Regions from separate parts of the Homo sapiens genome. Here region 2 is linked to region 1. The links are contacts of gene promoters, found by promoter capture Hi-C in human tissues and cell types (Jung and others, 2019). All regions are on one chromosome and are shown on one strand. Each heading gives the region's core, a stretch centred on a gene start or on the middle of the fragment in contact. The rest is flanking DNA. Distances are from core to core; before and after follow the strand shown. Region 1 holds the start of ABCC12 (ATP binding cassette subfamily C member 12). Region 2 overlaps NETO2 (neuropilin and tolloid like 2).

Region 1 (5,827 bases), core at 2,209-4,708:
GCAGGTTAGCTGATGAAGAAGAAAGAGCTCACGGCAAGTTCTGAAACCCAGCTGAAATTATTTGGGGGAGAATCATAGAATCCAAGACATGGCAAACCAGCCTCTCAGGGAGAATTTCCCTCTGGCCCACCAGATCGGGCCTCAACATGCTTTGGTGACAGACCCCAGTCACTTCTTCTCAAGACGGCCCGCATGCAGTATTCCTGCAGGAAATGCATACCCTGCGTCTAGTCTTGAGAAAATACCAGATGAACCCAAAGGAGCTTTCTACAGAACAAGTGGCCTGTGCTCTTCAAAAACGTCAATTGCACGAAAGACAAAGAAAAGTGAGGAAACATCCCAGATTAAAGGATACAGAAGAGATGTGACAGCTAAAAGCAACACACAAGCCTGGATTGGATGCTTGACCAGAAGAAAATTAATTTGCTATAAAGAACATTATTGGCCCAAGTCAAAGGTCAAACTGTGCACTTGACTCTCAAGTCACCCGCCTGACCCTCTTCCAAGTGTACTTTACTTTCTTTCATCCCTGCTCTAAAACTTTTTAATAAATTTTCACTCCTGCTCTAAAAAAATAAAAATAAGTAAATGAAATGTGTAAAAGAACAGTATTGGAACATTGGAGAAATCTAAATATGGACTATAGATTCTGCAATAATATTTTATCAAAGATAAATTTCCTGATTTTGATATTAATGCTAAAGTAAATGTGGCAAAAATGTCACTGCAAATCTCAGTGAAGGGTAGTTGGGATCTCTTAGCATTATTTCTGTTACTTTTCTGTAAGTTTGAAATCATTACAAAATAAAAAGTTAAGCATTTTCTAAAGAAATAGCCCTAAAGGGGATGATTTTTTTTTCCTTCTGTGGAACTAAATGCAATTTTTCTGCACACTTCTCAGCTCTCAGGAGCCATGCATCCTCCACTGATGTCCTCTTCATGTGCCCTGTGATATTTGAGGACCATTGTCATTTCCGACAACTCACTCCCAGCCACCCAGTGGCTAGTCCTCTCTCATCCAGGCTAATCTTTCCCAGCCCCTTTGAGAAGGTGGAACTCATTGTCAGTGGAGAACCCTTACCTATAACTTCTATTTTTTGGTTCCCTTTTCTAATGGTAAGGGACCCTGGCAGCAAGATGTCATCAGCTTGTCTTAAGGGCTCCTGAGTCCCAGATGCCAAACACTGGAGGCCAGGCCTCCCTGGCCAGGTTTGAGTAATCAGCGCGCATAGGAAATTGGTGCTAGAAGGTAATTTCCTTGAGTGCTCCCCAGGGCATGTGAAGTTTTGATGATCTGAGGCGGCTTGGAAGCATTGCAGCTGGAATGGCACTTTGCTAAATTTGGCAGCCCTGGGGGGAAAAATGAGACTTTTTTTAAAATCAGGAAGCCTGCTTTGGCTAACGTCTCTATCCCCGTCTGTCACGCCATCCTCTGCCAGGAGTGAGGAGCTGCCTGGGGTGAGAAATCTGTTTGCTGGCAATCACAGGATGGGGTCTGAGGGGTACACAGCTGATGAGAGCTGGGAGGAGGCAGTGCCAACCGGGCCAGGGTCCCTGCAGCCATCATGGCTCTGTTCTTGGCATTGTGTTTTCCATGCAGAGCATCTGAGGGTTGGCAGGAGATGCCAAAAAGTCACTGGTGCACCCCTCTGCTAGCAGGCAGGGGGTTCCTAACCTAACCTCAACAGACTGGACAGGCAGAAGCAGGAAGGCCTCTGTTTAGAGCACAGGACACAAAGACCATGTACAACTTGCAGTTCCATTTTATATGGCCTGCATAGTTTAAACATTTTTTTCCAATTTGTGGAAAACATTTAAAAATGAGGAGATACCACATTAAAAAAAAAATAAGACTGGCTTCTGGCTTTCGTCAAATATCAAGAGCTCTGTATGTTCATGTGGTGACAATCCACTTACGTTGAGCACGGCAGCCCCTCCTGGGCAGGGTATACATGCTTTAGTTTGCCACAATCCCCACCACTCCTTACTGTCTCTGTGACTCTGAGATTTGGGGTCATGTAACATTTATTATTGCATTGGCACTGCTGTCTTCCTTATAGTGTTTCCTGAGGCCTTTTTCTCTATCCTTGTCTCTGCCCCAAGAGAGAACAAAAGATGTCTAGAAGTCATCTCAAGAAGAACCATTTTCCACACCTGCCCACTTTGCTCTGTTATATTTCATTTCTGCCCCTGTCTAGCCCAGAAAATTAACAACTTTATGTTTGAGAACTGGACTCTGGGTCTTCCTTGGTGCTCATGATGGGAGTTCCTCCATCAACCAAAAGCAGGCACACCTTTAGTCATAAAATTTTTCCCAGGTATGAGACTACAGCCCTACTTCTTTCTTAATAAATCCATTGTTAATTTAAAGCCACCAAAGTTATCAATATCTGATGGTCTCCCCCAACTCCCACAGCCCCTTCCTCCAGGGCCTGACTGGCCTCCAGCACAGAGGAGACACTGGGGAGCTCTCCCAGGCCCTGCCTGCACCGCACCTCTCCTGTCTGTCCCCAGGTCCCAGGCACCTGTGGCAGCCAGATCAGAAAGCCCTGTGAGTGATGAGGGACTGGGGTTGGGAGGCAGGGAGAGGCAGAGAGGTGGCAGAGGGAAGTGCATGCAGGGGACAGCACCAAGCTGGGGGTGTGGGAAGGGAAGTGGGGGTGCTTTTGCTCAAGTACCCTCATCTCCCAGAAGGCCTAAAACAGTGGCCAGTGATGGCATCTCCAAAAGAGGTCATCCATCCAGTTACAGACACATTCCGACACGATCAAAGAAGGATGCAGAGCCTGGATTCAGAGCAATTCAAATCTACCCTCCCAGGAAAATAATATATTTAAAAGTTAAAAAAAAAAAAAAAAGAAAGAAAGATGAAAACCTCATATGAGAACTGCAGTAAAGCTTTCCAGGTCTTTTTTTTTGGGGGGGAGGTATAAATCCCATAATTAAATTGTGAACACTACCCTGTATATGTGTTTGTGTTTGTGCATGTGTGGGAAAAGACTTAAAATATTCAATGTAGGCTTTTGTATTTCAGAGATTTTGAAATCGCGTCTTGGCATTTCTGCCTTTTCTTTTATGATAGCGGGGGCTCCAAAAGTGGAAGAGGGGCTGCCTTTCTTCTGGGAGCCTCGTCCCTGCTGCCTCCCACTTGGGCAGCCCCATTCAGTGGTGTCACCTCCCCCAAACCCCCCACCACACACACACACAGCCTGTCCTGAGGATGAGAAACAAAGGCCCTTGGGACTAAATGGTGGCCACTAATTGTTACAGGGAGAAGCTTTACCTGGGCTGGAAATGAAGCTTTACCTGGGCTGAGGATGAGAGGGAGGGGAGGAGGGTCAGCAGTCATGGGGCTCAGAGCCTGGCATCTGCTGCCCAGGACTCCAGGGCCTGCTTCTCCCCAAGGACCTCAGATTCAGTTTCTCTTGTCCCACCCGCCTGAAGTCCTCCTCTCCAACTGCCCCATTCAACTGCCACTCCCACCACACCTGAGAGGGAACTCTGGCGGGCCAACATTCCCTCTGCCCACATTAAAGGGCTCTCCCCTCTTCCAGGATGGCCTGTGGCCGGGTCTGGCTCTTTGGTGACAGTCAGAGCCCATGCATGAAAGCACTGTGCATGGCCAGCCCTTCCCTGGCTGTCACAGCACATCCTTGTAGAAGAGAAGGAGAAAAATCCTCTCTCCAACCGTCATTCTACAGACGAGAAGCCCAAGGAACAGAAGCCTGTCCACGACTGGCGTGGGGCTGAGACCAGCACCCAGGTCCCCTGAGTCCCACTCCAGGCTCCTTCCTGAGAGAATGCATCGAATTTTCTACGCTGTGTTCCTGCAACCGGGAATCAACTTTGGGATCAGGGGAAGGGAAGGGAGGGGAGGGGAGGGCAGGGGTAGGGGAGGGCAGGGGTAGGGGAGGGCAGGGGAGGCGAGGGGAGGGGAGATGAGCCTCATCTTCAAAACAGAAAATCTCATTCATTCATTCCCCATTCATTTAACGAAAAAGAAAAGGGTAATTTGAGCTCAATTTGTCTTGAAATGAACGGAAGGTAAGTCTGAGACCTGCACTAGCAGCTAGCCCTTGCATAGAAAAGTTCCCCTGTGTCACCCTTGGAACCCTGCACATCCCGAGCGCAAGCGTGATTCCCGGGGTCCCTTCTGCGCCTGTCCCAGAACAAGCGCCCGATTTCAGGGGAGCCCAGCCGAAGGGTTCCACAGCGCTCAGCGAGCCGGCTGGGAGGGAGCAAACTCTCTAACTGCAGAAAAAAACAAATCTTGATTCCGCTTTAAGGGTTATTTAAACATCTTAGAGGACCTTCCCAGCCTCACGCACGTGGATTTCATGAGGAACTTGGCCGCTACCTTCTCCTGTCCTGCGCAATGCCGCCCCCTGCTGGCTGCCTTCCGGCCCCGCCGCTTCCTGGAGATGCGAATTCACCGCCTTTGCCCAACCTGAGTTCCCTTCCTACCTAGAGGGAGGTGGAAATGGAGAGGGGCTGTGGGCAGCTGTGTAGGAAAATGGGTCCTCCCAGGAAGGCTCCCCGGCCTGGGGAGTGAGCTAGACCGACAGCAGTTTCCTTACACGTGTCCAAAGTGTTCCATTTAATTTCCGTCCATTCTTCCCTTCATGAATGCAAATCACTGCTAATAATATCACTCGACATTTCTGGAGCCCTTTGTGTATCGCAAAATTCTTCATCCTCTTTATCACTTGATCTTCGCAACAACCCCGGGGGTCTCATAAACACAGCAAAGACTCGCTTCCACAATCTTCCAAACGGAGTCAAGTGCTGTCAAGTTTATGGAGGAAGAATGCCGATCAGTTTTCCTCTATCTCCATGAAAGGCTGGGCGGAGATGGATTTCCACCCAGACAAACAGTATTGGGCGCTACGCAAGAAGATTGGTGGGCCTAGCCGGAAACAGAGTGGAGAATGATGGAGAGGGACTGTCCGGTCTGTATCCAAGGAAGTCCTTAGGAAAAGACCAGCCAAGCTCCTGTTCCAGGCAGAGCGTGGACTCACCCATAGTCAGGGAACTGAGGCCCATCCTGGGTGTACACACAGCTCGCGGGGGGGCGAGATAATCCACTGGAATACAAAAAGAAAAAAAATAGAAATCCTTTTCATATTTCTCCTCTTCCTTTAAAAATTCTATTTTGGCTGTGTGCAGAGGCTCAGGCCTATAATCCCAGTACTGGGGGGCCAAGGCAGGTGGATCACTTGAGCCCAGGCATTCAAGACAAGCCTAGGCAACATGGTGAAACCCCATCTCTACTGAAAATACAAAAATTAGCTGGGCGTGGTGGCATGTGTCTGTAGTCCTAGCTACTTGCGAGGCTGAGGTGGGAGTATGAATTGAGCCAGGGAAGTCAGGACTGCAGTGAGCTGTGATCGTGCCACTGCATTCAGGCCTGGATGATGAGAGTGACTCTGTCTCAAAAAAAAAAATTGTGTACAGTGATATACATGTGTAGGGGAGAAAAAGTGTGATACTTTTCCTCACCAGTCATGTGGGTCATGGCTGACACTCTTGTAACAAAAGGCAGACTAACAAAAGGAAAGCATAACAATTTTATTTCATCAAAGTTTAATGTGACATGTGAGTCTTCAGAAATGAATACCGAAAGGCTCAGGAAGAACTGTCCATTTTTATGCTTAGACTCAATGAGGAATGGACAGTGGTATAGAAATGCGATTGGACAGAAAGTTCTGATTAACTGTAATGGACCGAGGTGATGGGATGGGGACCCAGCAGGGCCTGTCTGTTCAGATTCTTCTTGGCCTCTCTGCACAGCATTTCTTCTTTCTAGGTATGGGGCACGACCCCTCTG
Region 2 (6,031 bases), core at 676-3,175, 1.1 Mb before region 1:
AGGAAACAGTTGGAAGAGGCTAACCAGCCCTGCCCAAATGTAGATTAAAGTTAAGGGCCATTCAAATTCAAGTAAAAAAATGATGGTATTTTGGAAAGCAGATTTTGCCAAAGCTACTGGTAATATGATCTGCACTTATGATAAGCAAAATAAAAAAAAATTAGGAAGTACTGATATATCACTTGGATTTTTTTTTTTTTTTTTTAATCCTTAGCTAATTGGCTGAGGAGTTTAAGGAGATAGAAAAGCAAAGAAATATAACAGAAACAGTTTTTCCTGGTGGGAATGTATTCACTTGATTTTTCAGGAACCTAAAGGAAGGTTTGTTTTATTTATTTACTTATTTATTTATTTATTTATTTATTTAGAGACGGAGTCTTACTCTGTCACCCAGGCTGGAGTGCAGTGGTGCAATGTTGGCTCACTGCAAGCTCCGCCTCCCGGGTTCACGCCATTCTCCTGCCCCAGCCTATCGAGTAGCTGGGACTACAGGCGCCCGCCACCATGCCCGGCTAATTTTTTGTATCTTTAGTAGAGACAGGGTTTCACCGTGTTAGCCAGGATGGTCTCAATCTTGTTGACCTCATGATCTGCCCGCCTTGGCCTCCCAAAGTGCTGGGATTACAGGCATGAGCCACCGCGCCTGGCCATTTATTTTTTGAGACGGGGTCTTGCTCTGTCACCCAGGCTGGAGTGCAGTGGTGCAATCTTAGCTCACTCCAACCTCTGCCTCCTGGGTTCAAGTGATCCTCCCATCTCAGTCTCCTGAGTGGTGCATACCACCACGCCCAGCTAATTTTTGTATTGTTAGTAGAGATGGGGTTTCACCATGTTGGCTAGGCAGGCTGGTCTCAAACTCCTGAGCTCAAGCGATCCACCCGCCTCGGCCTCACAAAAGCTGGAATTACATGTATGAGCCGCTGTGCCTGGCCTAGGAACCCAAAGAAGAATCCTAAAATCTGTCTTCAAAATTTCTCCACTTTTAAGTTGTGGTGGTTGTCTGTGTATGAGCTACAACCTTTAATAAGAAAAACTTCCCACATGCTTACCAAATAGTGAAGATAACTTTTAAAAACTTAAGCAGTTCATAAAAACACAATCTCCATAGTAACCATAAGAACATATCTATAAAATATACACAAAAGGAAATGCGAAGGGAATCAAAACTTGTCACTACAAAAAAAAATCAATTAAAGAAAAGAAGGCAGTAATGGAGGAAATGAGAGACAACAAAGCTATAGACACACAGAAAACAAGTAGCAAAGTGACAGAACCTTCCTCATCAGCAATTAAACATAAATAAACTCTCCAATCAAAAGAAGAGATTGCAGAATTGATGGGAAAAAACAAGATCCAATTATATGCTGCCTGTAGGACACTCACTTTAAAGATATAAAAAAGTTGAAAGTAAAAGGATGGACAAAGATATTCCATGCAAATAGTTGCTAAAAGACAGCTAGGGGGTGGCAAGACTAGTCTTGGATAAAAAAGGACACGGTATATTGATAAAAGGGTCAATTCACCCAGAAGATATAACGATTATAAACATATATGGACTAAAAACAAAGGAGCCCTAAAATATATGAAACAAACATTGATAGAACTGATGGGAGAAGTAGACACTTGTACAATAGTAATTGGAGACTTCAACATTGCACTTTCAATAAAGGATAGAATGACCAGGCAGAACATCAATAAGAAAATAAAGGACCTGAACACCACTATAGACCAAATGGACCTAACATATACAGAAAATTCCACCCAATAACAGAAAAATGTAATTTTTCTCAATTACACATCAGACAGTCTCTAGAATAGACTACGTATGTTCAGCCACAAAACAAGTCTTAATATATTTTAAATGACTGAAATATAAAATTTATTTTCAAATCAAAATGGAATGAAACTAGATATCAACAACTGAAGGAAAATGAAAAAATTCACAAGTCTGTGTAAATTAAACTACACACTCTTACACAACTTTTAAAGCTGTGATTTCAAAAAAGAAATCCACGGGAAATTATAAGATACCTTGAGACAAATGAAACCCAAAACATGCCAAAACTTATGCAGAGTACTAAAAGCAGTAGTAAAAGGGAAATTTACACCTGTAAATGCCTACATTAAAAAAGAAGAAACAACTTAGATCAATAGTTTAACTTTATACCTTAAGGAACTAGAGAAAGAAGACAAACTAAATCCAAAGCTAGCAGAAGTAACAAAATAATAAAGATTTGAGTGACAATAAATAAAATAGAAAACAGAAAAAGAGCAAAAACCCAAAACTTGATTCTTTGGACAGATCAACAAGACTGACAAACCTGTGGCTAGAATTATTAAGAACAAAAAGACTCAAATTATTAAAATCAGAAATGCAACTGGAGACATTACTACAGATCTGACGTATATAAAAAGAATCATAAGTGAATACTAAGAACAACTGTATGCCAACAAACTGACAACCTAGAGGAAATGGATGAATTCCTAGAAACACACAATCAAAACTGCATAATGAAGCCAAAGAAAATCTGAATAGGCCTAAAACTAGCAAGGAGATTAAAAAAAGAATCCAGAACTTCTCAACAAAGAAAGGCTCTGGATCACATGGCTTCACTGGTGAATTCTACTAAACATGTAAAGAATTAACACCAATCAGTTGATTCCTGGGCAAGATGGCCGAATAGGAACAGTTCCAGTCTGCAGCTCCCCATGAGATCAAGGCAGAAGGCAGGTGATTTCTGCATTTCTAACTGAGGTACCCAGCTCATTTCACTGGGACTGGTTAGACAGTGGGTACAGCCCACGGAGGACGAGTAGGAGCAGGGTGGAGGGTCACCTCACTTGGGAAGCTCAAGGGGTCGGGGAACTCCCTCCCCTAGCCAAGGGAAGCCATGAGGGAACGGCGCATTCTGGCCCAGATACTACACTTTTCCCATGGTCTTCACAACCCGCAGACCAGGAGATTCCCTCGGGTGCCTACACCACCAGGGACCTGGGTTTCAAGCATAAAACTGGCGGCCATTTGGGCAGACACCGAGCTACCTGCAGAAGTTTTTTTTCATACCCTAGTGGTGCCTGGAACGCCAGCGAGACAGAACTGTTCATTCCCCTGGAAAGGGGGCTGAAACCAGGGAGCCAAGTGGTGTAGTTCAGCAGATCCCACCCCCACGGGGCCCTTCAGACGAAGATGCACTGGCTAGAAATTCTCACTGCCAGCACAGCAGTCTGAAGTTGACCTGGGACGCTTGAGCTTGGTAGGGGGAGGGGCATCTGCCATGACTGAGGCTTGAGTAGGTGGTTTTCCCCTCACAGTGTAAACAAAGCCACAGGGAAGTCTGAACTGGGCAGAGCCCACCGCAGCTCAGCAAAGCTGCTGTAGCCAGACTGCCTCTCTAGATTCCTCCTCTCTGGGCAGGGCATCTCTGAAAGAAAGGCAGCAGTCCCAGTCAGGGGCTTATAGATAAAACTCCCATCTCCGTGGGACAGAGCACCTGGGGGAAGGGGCCGCTGTGGGTGCAGCTTCAGCAGACTTAAACGTTCCTGCCTGCCGGCTCTGAAGAGAGCAGCAGACCTCCCAGCACAGCACTCGAGCTCTCCTAAGGGACATACTGCCTCCTCAAGTGGGTCCCTGATCCCCATGCCTCCTGACTGGGAGATACCTCACAGAAGGGGTCGACAGACACCTCACACAGGAGAGCTCCAGCTGGCATCTGGTGGGTGCCCTTCTGGGACGAAGCTTCCAGAGAAAGGAAAAGGTAGCAATCTTTGCTATTCTGTAGCCTCCACTAGTGATACACAGGCAAACAGGGTCTGGAGTGGACCTCCAGCAAACTCCAGCAGATCTGCCGCAGAGGGGCCTGACTGTTAGAAGGAAAACTAACAAACAGAAAGGAATAGCATCAACATCAATAAAATGGGCGTCCACACATAAACCACATCCAAAGGTCACCAACATCAAAGACCAAAGGTAGATAAATCCATGAAGATAAGGAAAAAACACTGCAAAAAGCCTGAAAATTCCAAAAACCAGAACTCCTCTTCTCCTCCAAAGGATCACAACCCCTTGCCAGCAAGGGAACAAAACTGGATGGAGAATGAATTTGATGAATTGACAGAAGTAGGCTTCAGAATGTGGGTAATAACAAACTTCTCCGAGCTAAAGGAGCATGTTCTAACCCAATGCAAGGAAGCTAAGAACCTTGAAAAAAGGTTAGAGGAATTGCTAACTAGAACAACCAGTTTAGAGAAGAACATAAATGACCTGATGGAGCTGAAAAACACAGCATGAGAACTTCGTGAAGCATATGTAAGTATCAACAGCTGAATGGATCAAGTGGAAGAAAGGATATCAGAGATTGAAGATCAGTTTAATGAAATAAAGCGGGAAGACAAAATTAGAGAAAAAAGAATTAAAAGGAACGAACAAAGTCTCTAAGAAATATGGGACTACGTGAAAAGACCAAACCTACGTTTGACTGGTGTACCTGAAAGTGACAGGGAGAATGGAACCAAGGTGGAAAACACTCTTCAGGATATTATCCAAGAGAACTTCCCCAACCTAGCAAGACAGGCCAACATTCAAATTCAGGAAATACAGAGACCACCACAAAGATACTCCTTGAGAAGAGCAACCCCAAGACACATAATCGTCAGATTCACCAAGGTTGAAATGAAGGAAAAAATGTTAAGGGCAGCCAGAGAGAAAGGTCGGGTTACCCACAAAGGGAAGCCCATCAGACTAACAGCGATCTCTCTGCAGAAACCCTACAAGCCACAAGAGAGTGGGGGCCAATATGCAACATTCTTTTTTTTTGTGTATGTGACGGAGTCTCGCTCTGTCACAATCTAGGCTCACTGCAACCTCTGCCTCCTGGGTTCAATGGGTTCAAGCAATTCTCTCAGCCTCACGAGTAGCTGGGATTACAGGCGCCCACCACCACACCTGGGTAATTTTTGTATTTTTAGTAGAGATGGGATTTCAACATCTTGGCCAGGCTGGTCTTGAACTCCTGACCTCGTGATCCACCTGCCTTGGCCTCCCAAAGTGCTGGGATTACAGGTGTGTGAGCCACTGCGCCCAGCCTCAACATTCTTAAAAGAATTTTCAACCCAGAATTTCATATCCAGCCAAACTAAGCTTCGTAAGTGAAGGAGAAATAAAATCCTTTACAGACAAGCAAATGCTAAGAGACTCTGTCACCACCAGGCCTGCCTTACAAGAGCTCCTGAAGGAAGCACTAAATATGGAAAGGAAAAACTGGTACCAGCCACTGCAAAAACATACCAAATTTTAAAGACCATTGACACTATGAAGAAACTGCAACAACTAATGGGCAAAATAACCAGCTACCATCATAATGACAGGATCAAATTCGCACATAACAATATTAACCTTAGATGTAAATGGGCTAAATGCCCCCAATTAAAAGACGCAGACTGGCAAATTGGATAGAGTCAAGACCCATCAGTGTGCTGTATTTAGGAGATCCATCTCATGTGCAAAGACATACATAGGCTCAAAATAAACAGATGGAGGAATATTTACCAAGCAAATGGCAAGAAAAAAAAAAGCAGAGGTTGCACTCTAGTCTCTGATAAAACAGACTTTAAACTAACAATGATCAAAAAAGACAAAGAAGGGCATTACATAATGGTAAAGGGATCAACGCAACAAGAGCTAACTATCCTAAATATATATATGCACCCAATACAGGAGCACCCAGATTCATAAAGCAAGTTCTTAGAGACCTACAAAGAGACTTAAGACTCCCACACAATAATAGTGAAAGACTTTAACAACTCATTGTCAATATTAGACAGATAACGAGACGGAAAATTAACAAGGATATTCAGGACTTGAACTCAGCTCTGTACCAAGCAGACCTAATAGACATCTATAGAACTCTTCAACCCAAATCAACAGAATGTACATTCTTCTCAGCACCACATAACACTTATTCTAAAATTGACCACATAATTGGAGGTAAAACACTCCTTAGCAAATGCAAAAGAACAGAAATCATAACAAACA

What was found. The method cuts DNA at HindIII sites, captures the fragments that hold promoters and counts their contacts. A contact is called where the count stands out against the background at its distance.
Region 2: a contact is called between a fragment that was not itself captured here and the fragment with the promoter of ABCC12 in region 1, in 2 of the 25 tissues and cell types used here (dorsolateral prefrontal cortex and mesenchymal stem cells).

The regions. Positions count from the first base shown.
Region 1 is chr16:48,152,535-48,158,361 of GRCh38, forward strand. It overlaps ABCC12 (ATP binding cassette subfamily C member 12), which reads right to left and starts at 3,459. Exons shown (of 31, transcript NM_001393797.1): 1 at 3,307-3,459; 2 at 1,082-1,350. RefSeq lists an enhancer at 5,443-5,827. The HindIII fragment of the contact is 12,201 bases long and covers 3,088-5,827 here.
Region 2 is chr16:47,094,077-47,100,107 of GRCh38, forward strand. The region is part of intron 7 of NETO2 (neuropilin and tolloid like 2); the gene reads right to left. Among named protein-coding and RNA genes, the nearest start is that of NETO2, 47 kb to the right of the region's middle. The HindIII fragment of the contact is 5,022 bases long and covers 1-4,436 here.